Linked DNA regions of Homo sapiens: regions 2 and 3 are each linked to region 1. The links are contacts of gene promoters, found by promoter capture Hi-C in human tissues and cell types (Jung and others, 2019). All regions are on one chromosome and are shown on one strand. Each heading gives the region's core, a stretch centred on a gene start or on the middle of the fragment in contact. The rest is flanking DNA. Distances are from core to core; before and after follow the strand shown. Region 1 holds the start of CD302 (CD302 molecule). Region 2 overlaps PLA2R1 (phospholipase A2 receptor 1). Region 3 overlaps PLA2R1 (phospholipase A2 receptor 1).

Region 1 (3,800 bases), core at 786-3,285:
AAGAGCTTTTCTATTAAGATCTTGGTATTCAGCAACAAACTCTTTCTTGACTTAGTTCTAAGCCAAATATGACCCCTGATCTTGCTTGGATGGGAGATTTGTAAAGTATTATGAAAAACACACTTAGTTTTTCAGCCCTATAACATTAGCATACATATGAATGTGTTCAGTAACCATAAACATCCAATATACATAAGGTGGTATTCATACGTTTTCTGGTTGCAACAATTACCCTTCATTTTGTATGAAGAGAATAAAGGGAAGGAAACCAAGATGAACCACGCCTGTAATAGGGACTAGACGTGGAGTTCCCACTTAATGCTCCCAATAGCCCCATGAGTAAGTATTATCTCTGTTTTACTGAAGTGCAGATAAGTTGGTTAACTAGCTAGGTCAAAGCTCACACTCATTTCCAAATTAATCCTTAAAGCTTCCTGACTGGGAGGAGCTGATTAATTAACATTAATTTATTCATCATGCACTTTTCTAAAGCTCTTGAAAAGCCTATTGATCCACACTGGACTTATCAAAGGAAATGCACAAAAATTTCCAAAGGGAAATTTGCCCTCTATTGCTGGTCAAAACAGCTTCACTGAAGAAGAGACATACCAAAATCTAGAAACTGATTTTCTTTAAAAGTCTGACAAGAAAGAAAAATCTGACAAGAAAATTCGACTAGCCTAAAGTACAAATGCACAGCCTCGCAGAGGGTGGTTTACATGAGAGTTGAGATGTTACTGGCTCGCAAAATGAGGGTGTGCAGAAGGAGGGTTCAGAGACAGCCCAGCTTTGTCTTAGACAAAATTAATGTTCCCAGTCTGAACAATGTGAACATGGGCACATCTTGTTTCTGCCCCTTTGATAGGCAGCAGATGTCACAACCAGTCATAAATGCAGGTCCACAGAAGTTTTCAAGAAAGGAACCTTGGGTTTGTATCCAAGTTCTGAGCTGCTGCTGCCTCCAACACTGAGGTCCACTGAAATATTCCTGTCAGTAGACTTCGAGCAGGCAGTTATTATAAAAACGCAGTGAAATCTGGGGCAAGGGGTGGGGGGGGGGAATCTCTTGCATTTTATTTAAATCTCTTGCACTTTATTTAAGCCCACACAAGTACTCATTTAGTTCTTGTTTATTTTGCTCTTTAATTCCTGGAATTATTCAGTCAGTGGTGTTTTTGGAAGTCTGTGTTCTCCAGAGTCTCCCCATCCACATATTTTTGACATGCTTGTATGGAAATTTTTTAAAAATAAAGACCACGGTCAATAGAATTGTGCATTTTCCTCACGAGTCGTTTTGTAAATGAATGATCACGTGTGTGATTTTTCAGATGTCACTTGCACAACAGCAGACTAGAACTTTAAAACTCCTTGATTTCAGTGAAATCCAAGCTTTGCCTATTCCCGTTCCTCTTCCATCCAGGGGTTATTTGGCTGAACTGTTTTCCTGTTTAAACAACTTGAACACCAACCAACTAGACAAACAGCGCTGCTTGCAAAAGAGGGCCTACTTCCTCCGGCCCCCACCCCCATCCCAGCAACCCCACTCCGGCCGCGCACCAGCAGGGGAAATCGCCACCAACGTCCCCGCTTCTCATTTCAGCCCGAAATTGCCCTGAAACGGCGCCCGTCGTGCGACTCCAAGTCCCTCAGTTCTCCGGCCAACTGGCCTAATTTGGGGGTTCCCTCCCCGCGGAGTGGGGTCTGCGGTGAGGATGTGGACTCCGAGGAAGACAGAGCCCTCCCTTATTCTCGGCCACCTCCCCTCCCCGAGGGCAGGCGGGTGAGAGGTGACCCGGAGCCAGGACCCACGGGGGACGGGCGTGCAGGGAAGGGCGGGATGGCCGGCCGGGTGTTGCGTCTGCGGGCCGCCCTCGGGTGCGCGGGGACGAAGAGCGTGCGTTGGGAAGGGGGCGAAGGCGGTCGCGCACGGTCCCGGCGAGGGACTACGTAAGGGCTTACCCGCGACGGCAGCAGCGGCGAGGCCCAGCAACGGCAGCAGGAGCGCGGGCAGCGCGGCCCGGAGCATGACGGCGGGTGCGGGTGGGCGGCAGCGGCTGCGCGGCCGGAGAGGAGCGGGGCGGGGCGGGAGCGGGGGCGGTGCTTCTCGCGTGCGAGTTTAATCCCCCCCCCGGGCGGAACGTGAACGGCACTGGGGGCTCCCACCAGGAGAACCCGGGTGTCCCGTCCCGCAGGAGCGGCTGGCGCGCGGCCTTCTGGAACTTCTAATTTTTGTTTTTTAAACTTTTCATTTGAATTGAAATAATTTAGGACTTTCGAAAATGTTGCAAAAACAGCACAAGAGATTTCCGTAACCCTTCAGCCAGCTTCTCTAAATATTGACATTGTATATAACGCCAGTGCAGTGATCAAACACAGGGCACTCGCACTGGGATAATGCGATTAGCTAATCTACAGCACTTACCACATTTCATTAATTGCCCCTCTAAGGGTCCTTTTCTGTTCCAAGATTCAATCCAGGATCATACATTGCATGTCGTGTCTCCTTAGTCTCCCTTTAATCTAGGACGGTTCTCTGTCATTCTTTTTCTTTCACGATCAAACCACATTTAAAAAGTACTGGCCAGTCGTTTTGTAGAATGTCCCTCAGTTTCATTTTGTCTGACATTTCCTTCTAATTGGATTCAGGTTGCGCTTTTTTGGGAAAGAGTTCCCCAGAAGTGATGTACGTGCTCGAGAAGGACAAGATGTCGATGTCTCATCACTGATGTTAACTTGGATCAGTTGGTTAAGGTGGCGTTTGCCAGCCTTCTTCTTTGGATCTACTGGCCAGAATCCTCCTTTTCAAAGACCCCTTTCAGTGGACTATGTCTCTTAGACAACTTTTCTCTGTTACCAGCTCCTGGATGAAGAGTCTTTAAGCTATGTTTGCTACAATGTATGCATAAACTGTGCAATTATACTTCACCCATGAGGGCCTCTGGACAACACTAGCCAGGGTCAAGCAAGGGTGCTTGTTTAAGCCTCATGTCATTGGCAAAAGAGTTCTATAAAATCAAGTCTAAACTCAACAACGTGAAAACAAATGACCCAGTTAAAAAAAATGGTCAGATGATCTGAATACACACGTCATCAAAGAAGTTATATAATGGCAAATAGATGAAAAGATGCTCAACATCATATGTCATTGCTGAATTGTATATGAAAACAAAAATGAAATACCACTACATACCTATTAGATACCAGAATCCAAAAACACTGACAAGACCACATGCTGGCAAAGATGTGGAGCAAAAAGAACTCTCATTCAATGCTGGTGCAAATGCAAAATGGTACAGCCACTTTGGAAGACAATTTGGAAGCTTCTTCCAAAACTAAACGTACTCTTACCATACCATCTAGCAATCACAACTCCTTGGTATTTATCCAAATGAGTTAAAAACTTACATACACACAAAAACCTGCACATGAATGTTGATAGCAGCTTTATTCATAATTGCCAGAACCTAGAGGCAAACAAGATGTCCTTCAATAAGTGAATGGATAAACAATGGCACATCCAAACAATGAAATGTTACTCAGTACCAAAATTAAATGAGCTATCAAGCCACAAAAAGACATGGAAGAACTTTAAATATGTATTGCTAAGAGAAAGAAGCCAATCTGAAAAGACTGCATACTATATGATTCCAACTATATGACATTTTAGACAAGGCAAAACTATGGAGACAGTAAAAAGATAAATGGTTGCCAGGGGTTGGGGTGGGAAGAAGGAGGGGATGAATAGATGGAACACAGAGGATTTTTAGAGCCATGAAATTATTCTGTAGGATACTGTAATG
Region 2 (3,800 bases), core at 403-2,902, 170 kb after region 1:
TATTTAGAATATACAAGGAATTCCTATAACTCAACAATAAAAAGGCAAATGATCCAATTTAAAAATGGACAAAGGACTTTAATAGACATTTTTCCAAAGAAGATAAACAAATGGCTAACAAGCACATGAAACGATGCTCAACTTCATCAGATAATAGAGAAATGCAAATCGAAATCACAATGAAATAACACCTAACGTGTTCTAGGATGGCTATATAATAGCCAGAGTTGGCAAAGATGTGGAGAAATTGAAACCCTCACACACGGCTAGCAGGATTGTAAAATGGTTTGGTCGCTGTGGAAGAACATTTGTCAGTTCCTCAAAAAGCTAACTACTGAGTTACCATATGACCCAGCAATTCTATTCGTAGGTATACATTCAAAAGAATTGAAAATAGGGACTCAAACAGAGACTTACACACCAATGCTCATTGAAGCATTATTCACAATAGTCAAAAGGTGAAAACAACCCAAGTGCGCATCAACAGATGAATGAATAAACAAAATATGCAATATTCACACACACACACACGCCCGTGCCACACAGGAATATTATTCAGCCACAAGAAGGAAGGCAATTTTGATATATGCTAAAGCACAAATGAACCTTGAAAACATCATGCGAATAGGCCAGACACAAGGACAAATATTGTATGAGTTCGCTAATATGAAATATCTAGAATAGGCACATTCACAGGGATAGAGAATAGATTAGAGGTTACCAGGGGATGGGGAACAGGAAGTTAGTGCTTAATGGTTACAGAGTTTCTGTTTGGGATAGTGAGAATGTTTTGGAAATAGAGATGATGGTTGTATAACATTGTGCATGTAATTAATGCCATTGAATTGTACACTCAATAATGGTTAAAATGGCAAATGTTATGTTACATTATTTAGGACCATAAAGATGCTTTAAAAAACTAATTGCCAAAGGTTTTAATAAAAGACTTAGTAACACTCAGTGTCTTATTGAATATTAGCTACAAGTTTCTCATACTAAAATGTGAAAATAATTTATACCTGGTAGAAAGATTTTATAGTTTGAGAAAATAGGAAGTATACAGAAAGTATCAATGATTAAAAAATAGTGTACCTCATTACTATAGTAAAGTTTTAGAGTAAATTATACTATTCTAGAAAATATCTCATGGTGCCACTGAGCTCACTGTGTCATAGGGCTAAGCTGACATGGCAACCCTTTTTTTTAAAAAAAAATTATTAAATACTTCATTTTTTAAAGAGCAGTTTTAGGTTCACAGCAAAGTTAAGAGGAAGGTACAACTTTGGGAGACCAAGGCGGGCGGATCACCTGAGGTCAGGAGTTTGAGACCAGCCTGGCATGATGAAACCCCGTTTCTACTAAAAATACAAAAATTAGTCAGGCGTGGTGGCAGGCACCTGTAACCCCAGCTACCTGGGAGGCTGAGGCAAGAGAATCACTTGAACCTGGGAGATAAAGGTTGCAGTGAGGGGAGATCATGTCACTGCACTTCAGCCTGAGTGACAGACTGAGAGTCCATCTCAAAAAAAACCAGGAAGGTACAGAGATTTCCCACCTGATCCACACATACACAGCCTCCCGCATTATCACATGCCCCATCACCCCAGAATGGTACATCTGTTACAATCGATGAACCTGCATTAACACATCATAACCACCCAAAGTCCATAGTTTACATTAGGGTTCACTCTTTGTGTTGTACATTCTATGAGTTTGTACAAATGTCTAGTGACATGCATCCACCATTGTGCTATCATACAGAGAATTTTCACTGCCCTAAGAATCTTCCACAACTTCATCCTTCCCTCCCTGCAACACCTGGCAACCACTGATCTTTTTACTGTCTCTCTAGTTTTGTCTTTTCCAGAATGTCATATAGTTGGAATCATACAGTATTGTAGGCTTTTCAGATTGGCTTCTTTCACTTAGTAATATGAATTTAAGTTTCCTCCATGTGTTTTAAAGGCTTGATAGCTAATTTCTTTTTAGCACTGAGTAATATTCCATTGTGTGGTTGTACCAGTTTATTTATTCACCTACTAGGGACATCTTGATTGCTTCCAAGTTTTGGCAATTAAGAATAAAGATGTTATAAATATTCATGGACAGGTTTTTACATATACATAAGTTTTCAACTCCTTTGGGTAAATACCAAGGAGTGTGATTGCTGGATCAAATGGTAAAAGTATGTTTAGTTTTGTAAGAAACTGCCAAACTGTCTCCCACAGTGGCCGTACCATTCTGCATTCCCACCAGGAGTGAATGAGAGCTCCTGTTGTTCGGCCTCCTTGCCAGCATGTAGTGTTGTCAGTGCTCTGGATTTGGGCCGTTCTAGTAGCTGTGCAGTGGCAAATCACTCATTGTTGTTTTAATTTGCATTTCTGGAGTGGCAGTCCTTAAGTGCCAACGTGAAGTGGCAGGCATAGGAAAGGGGCAAGACCACCAGACTCAGGGTCAGAAAACAAAAAGTGCGTCTTGGCCTGATGCGTATTCACTGTGAAGTTTCAGAAAAGTCACACAATTTTGTTAGCATCTGTCTTCTCATATGTAAAATGAGGATAGTAATTCTATATATTTTTAAAATTCAGTGATATAAGAAATAAACATACAATCAATTAGCTAAGGGGGGACGTAACTCAAATGTCCACCAATGGATGACTGGATAAACAAAATGTAGTATATCCATACAATGGAATATTGTCCAACCGTCAAAAGGAAGTCCTGTCGCATGCCAGTGTGGGTGAACCTTGAGGACATTATGCTAACTGAAATAAGCCAGTCACAAAAAGGCAAATACTGTCTGATTCCACTTACATGAGGTATCTAAATTAGTCAATTTCAAAGACACAGAAAGTAGAACAGCAGTTGCCAAGGGGTTCAGAGTAGGAAGAACAGGGAGTCGTTTAATGGGTACAGTTTCAGTTTTGCAAGATGGAAAAGGTCTGGAGATTTGTTGAATGACAGTGTGAGTATGTGATACTTAACACTAGTAAACAGTAGACAAAAATGGCTAGAATGGTGAATTCTATATTGTGTGTATTTACCAGATATTAAAAAAATTTAAAAGTCAGTGCCAAATGTCTGGTGGGTACTCAATGAATGTGTGAAAAATCCAAGTGGCCTCATTTCTCAAATTAACAATGGGAGGAAGATCACAAAGGAGAGAAAGCCCTGCCAATATAACTGAACACTTAGATTAAAAATTGGCTGTCCACAATTGAAGAGGAATTTCATATTAGCATATGAAATGATGACACAGTTTGGGTTTTTTAATTTTCTAAGAGTTAAACAATTATAATTTGGGATGCATTTTAATTACTTCCACCTAAGGCCTATAAAGTTATTTTATTATAAAATATGAAGAGTGGAGGGAGACTAGGCCTTAATTGAAGGCAGCATCAGAAATAATAAATCTGGTTTAAAATATCCCCACTGGCAATTTTTTTTTTCTTAATTCAAATCTGCATGGAAGCACCAGCTTTATGAGGCTTAAGATGACATTGACCAAGCTAAGTTATTAGTCCCTCAATTCACTAGTGGGCAGAGCTCTATGCCGGCTCCAGGCAGGGAAAACACAAGAGTAGGAGATGGAGTCTGGGTCCTCTGAAATTTACAGCTTATTTGGGAGCAGAACCTAGACACACAGGCATGCAGGCACATACATACACGTGCACACACACGCACGCACATGAGCACACACACACATGCATATGCACACACACATGCATACATACATATACATACATATGTTACACCTAATGAAACATTCATACAGCACAATAAATGACTATGCCAACAGT
Region 3 (3,800 bases), core at 661-3,160, 140 kb after region 1:
CTTATCTTTAATAAGGAGTGGACCCTTCAAGAGAAGAAATATTTAACCCGAAAGAAGACTGTTGTAACTGTAAGAGCCCAATATATTGTTAAATGGAAAAACCCAGGCATTTCCATTACTCAGATTCTATAAAGATCCTCAGGTTAGTCATAGAACATAATTGACTGTTGGAGGGGCACATTAACTATGTGTGAATTTGTGATCCTGCCGCTTTTTTGGCATAAATGTAAGGAGTACAAGTGTAATTTTGTTACATAAATACAGTATGTAGTGGTAAAGTCTGGTGTAACCATCACGCAAATAGTGTATAATATACCCATTACCTGCTACTTTTTTTTCTTTTCGAATTATAGCTATAAAATCTAGTTCACATTAAAAATACAGATGAGGCCAGGTGCGGTGGCTCATGCCTGTAATCTTAGCACTTTGGGAGGCTGGGGCGGGTGGATCACGAGATCAGGAGATCGAGACCATCCTGGACAACATGGTGAAACCCTGTCTCTACTAAAAATACAAAAATTAGCTGGGCATGGTGGCATGTGCCTGTAATCACAGCTACTCGGGAGGCTGAGGCAGGAAACTTGCTCGAACCAGGCAGTTGAAGGTTGCAGTGAGCTGAGATCATGCCACTGTACTCCTGCCTGGCAACAGAGCAAGACTCCATCTCCAAAAAAAAAAAAAAAAAATGAAAAAAAGTTTCAAAAAAAATGCAAATATAAAAATGTAGCAGAATACTTCAGTACTATTTCTGCAAATTCAGTAATGGCAAGAAGTGTGTGATCTGTCCATGGGTCCAGATTATCTGGAGATGTTGTTCAATACTAAACATCAAAGTATGGAGCACTGAGAAGCAATACAGCTTCTTTCTGCAAAATCACTTTCCTAATGGTGTATTTTGTCAAATTATTATGTGTGACTATATACCTTGACTGGAAGGCTGGTTGATTAGCAGTTTTTACCAAGTCCATTGAAAAGAACAGAACTTTAATTCCACTCAAAAGATGGTTAAATTGGGCTTTTATACCATCTGGTGAGTTCAAGCCAATTATTTTTTGAGTCATAAATATGCAACTGCCACATAATATAATATCTTTTAAAAAATGAAGTCCCAATACTTAAAAAAATTATGGAGGTAGACTGTCCCAGTGTGTAAATTATTATAACAGTAGCAAAGAGCTGCTTTTGGAAGCTGGATTAACTGTTGCAGGCCACAAGGATTCCATTCTTAGTGGTATGCTCTTCAAATTGTATTTCTAATGATGATGGTTTGCCTCTTAGAAATTCATTCATACTTTCTCTCAGAGCTCCCCCTTGTGATTAGTGGCCACTGGTTTTGAGGCAGTTGGTTGTAATAATTAAAATGCACACTCTCAGGGAGGCCCTGAGAGTCCCCCAGTTTCTCTCTATCATGGAACCTTACTTCATTTTCATAACCACTTGCTATTTTATGCATATGCATTTCTTTACTGAGTTACTGTCAATTTTCCCTCATTAGAAAATAAGTGGCATGAAAAGATAGCCCTTACCCCAAGTTGCTCACCTTAGTACCTCTGTTTCTAGAACAGCACTTTTTTGAGGTGGGGTCTCATTCAGTTGCCCAGGCAGGAGTGCAGTGGTGCAACCATAGCTCACTGCAGCCTTCAACTTCTGGGCTCAGTTGATCCTCTTCCCTCAGCCTCCTAAGTAGCTGGGACTACAGGTGCGTGCCACCATGCTCAGTACACTTTTTTCTTGATAAAATTCAATAAACAGTTATGTAATGAGTAAATTTTTAGATATTGATTATGAAGCTGTTTTCTTTATAAGGAACTAATAAAGGAAAATAAAATCTGTAATTTTTTATTTACAGACAGTATCATAATCATTATTTACCATCTACACTAACTAGACTAATATAAAAGGAGATCGTTCCCAGAAAATAGTTTATTAAATAGAACACCTAAACTCATTTACATAATAAAGATATCTAGATTACTAATTTATTTAGTACTTCTCAACAACATCTGTCTGGTTCTAATGAGACTATAATTCAGATCTTTAGCTCTTCTCCTTTAAATCCAAGTTACATTTTATATCTTCCAGTTATTAAGAGTGTTACATATTATTTTATATATTTAGTTTTTCAGAAAGTCCATGAGTTTTAACAGTACAACTGTTAAAGTTTCAATATATTACTTTAAGCTTATGTATAAGACATTTTAAAATATCCAACTTAATCATCATTTAGTAATTGAAAGTTTAAGGCCACATTTTAACTATATGGTTGTTTATAAAAGTGTGCTGCTAATGAAGGTCTTTGCCATTTAAAAGAAGGTATTTTTCTTTCTCCTTTAGCTTGAGATGTTAGACCTAATAAAAATGAATGTCACCTTAAATATCAGTTGAGAGCCCAGAACCTGTGACCCTTAAGCACAGAAATTAGTATTTTCCAAATCCTGCTATTAAAAGTGAATTCAAAAGAAACAACTAAGAATCCTCTCAGAAGCCCTTTCCTTTTCCTCTCATATACAAGATTAATTTTTTTTTGCTTCTTTCTGTCTTTCTTAATGGTACGAGTGCAGGTAAATGTCTGAATAGATACCAGATTAGTTTTAAAATTCCCCCAAATTTTAGTAGAGATACATTAATGCAAAAACTATTATTCGCATTGATTTCAGAGTTTTCAATAGGGAGTTTCTTTTAATAGTTCTTGTCTTTCTGAAAAATAACCAATGCATAATTTACCCCTTTTAAGAATGGATCACAGTTTAGGGAAATGAATAAATCAAAACCCATCTGATTTGGTTAAGATTCAAAACCAGTAATCACTTCAAGAATAATTAAAATAGTGACCCAATTCACATTCTAATGGCATCTGTGCTGTAAAGGGAAAGACAGATGAGACTCCTGTTTAGTCTTCTTTACTTACCCTGGTGTCTGTGGCATTCTCTGACCTCATTATTATTGGTCACTCTTCTCAAGATCAGAAATGAGAATATTTTCTTCTAAATATACTGTACTAAAGTTGGTTGCAGGATAGTAAGGATTCCGAAACCCTGCAAGTCTCCTGAAGAAGCCACCGTTATGCTTGTATATGCAGAAGGAAAGTGTGCAAATGGCCACAATGACTATCAGTGTCAGTACAACCGCAAGAGGAATGATGCTGTGACTTGGTCCTGAAAGAAGATATTTTTCTTAAAAAAAGAAAAACTTCAGTGGCGATGAAGTAATATAGATACTGTCATACAGCTGCTTTCTATCTTATTATTTCTAAGAAAAATCAAAATGTTTTGTATGGTTTCAAACGTACCTTTTTCTGGCAGCGCCTCTGCAGTGTGAATATCTAAAATCAAATACAAAAATTAAAATGAGGTTTTTCTTTTAATTCAGCAAAAATATGTCATTACTTACTCAGGGATCAGCAAACTATGGCCCATGACCCTATTTTTATAAAAAATGTTTTACTGGAACTTAGCCACACTCATTCATTGATGTATTGTTACAGCTGCTTTCCTGCTACAATGGCATGTAACAGAGACCATATGGCTCCCAAAGCCTAAAATGTTTACTAGCTGGCCCTTTACAGAAAAAGTTTGCTGACCTTTGATTTATTGTAATCATCGTTATTAGTGCTCACAAACATACACCCTGCTTGTTTTTTTTAAGCCAAGAAGTTTCTATTCAGTCCCAGCACTGTGCTGCAATAAATATAGAGTAAAATATAAACCCTGCATACAAGGAACTCACAGTTTTGTTGGGATCTTATATGGAGTTTGTCCAGCAATGATAATCTGCCTGACTCTTTGTAAGGATTTTTAAAT

Evidence for each region. Contacts are between HindIII fragments. The study calls those that stand out against the background at their distance.
Region 2: a contact is called between a fragment that was not itself captured here and the fragment with the promoter of CD302 in region 1, in 1 of the 25 tissues and cell types used here (lymphoblastoid cells).
Region 3: a fragment that was not itself captured here is called in contact with the fragment with the promoter of CD302 in region 1 in 1 of the 25 tissues and cell types used here (lymphoblastoid cells).

Annotation. Positions count from the first base shown.
Region 1 is chr2:159,796,173-159,799,972 of GRCh38, forward strand. It overlaps CD302 (CD302 molecule), which reads right to left and starts at 2,036. Exons shown (of 6, transcript NM_014880.5): 1 at 1,960-2,036. The coding sequence starts at 2,026. The region is part of intron 33 of LY75-CD302 (LY75-CD302 readthrough); the gene reads right to left. LOC124906083 (a long non-coding RNA gene) reads left to right here. Exons shown (of 2, transcript XR_007087273.1): 1 at 1-1,780; 2 at 2,647-3,800. The HindIII fragment of the contact is 5,989 bases long and covers 910-3,800 here.
Region 2 is chr2:159,963,505-159,967,304 of GRCh38, forward strand. All of the region lies in intron 20 of PLA2R1 (phospholipase A2 receptor 1), which reads right to left. Among named protein-coding and RNA genes, the nearest start is that of LY75-CD302, 61 kb to the left of the region's middle. The HindIII fragment of the contact is 7,152 bases long and covers 1-3,800 here.
Region 3 is chr2:159,938,838-159,942,637 of GRCh38, forward strand. It overlaps PLA2R1 (phospholipase A2 receptor 1), which reads right to left. Exons shown (of 30, transcript NM_007366.5): 29 at 3,290-3,322; 30 at 1-3,155. The coding sequence ends at 2,941. Among named protein-coding and RNA genes, the nearest start is that of LY75-CD302, 36 kb to the left of the region's middle. RefSeq lists an enhancer at 1,380-1,429. The HindIII fragment of the contact is 6,614 bases long and covers 1-3,800 here.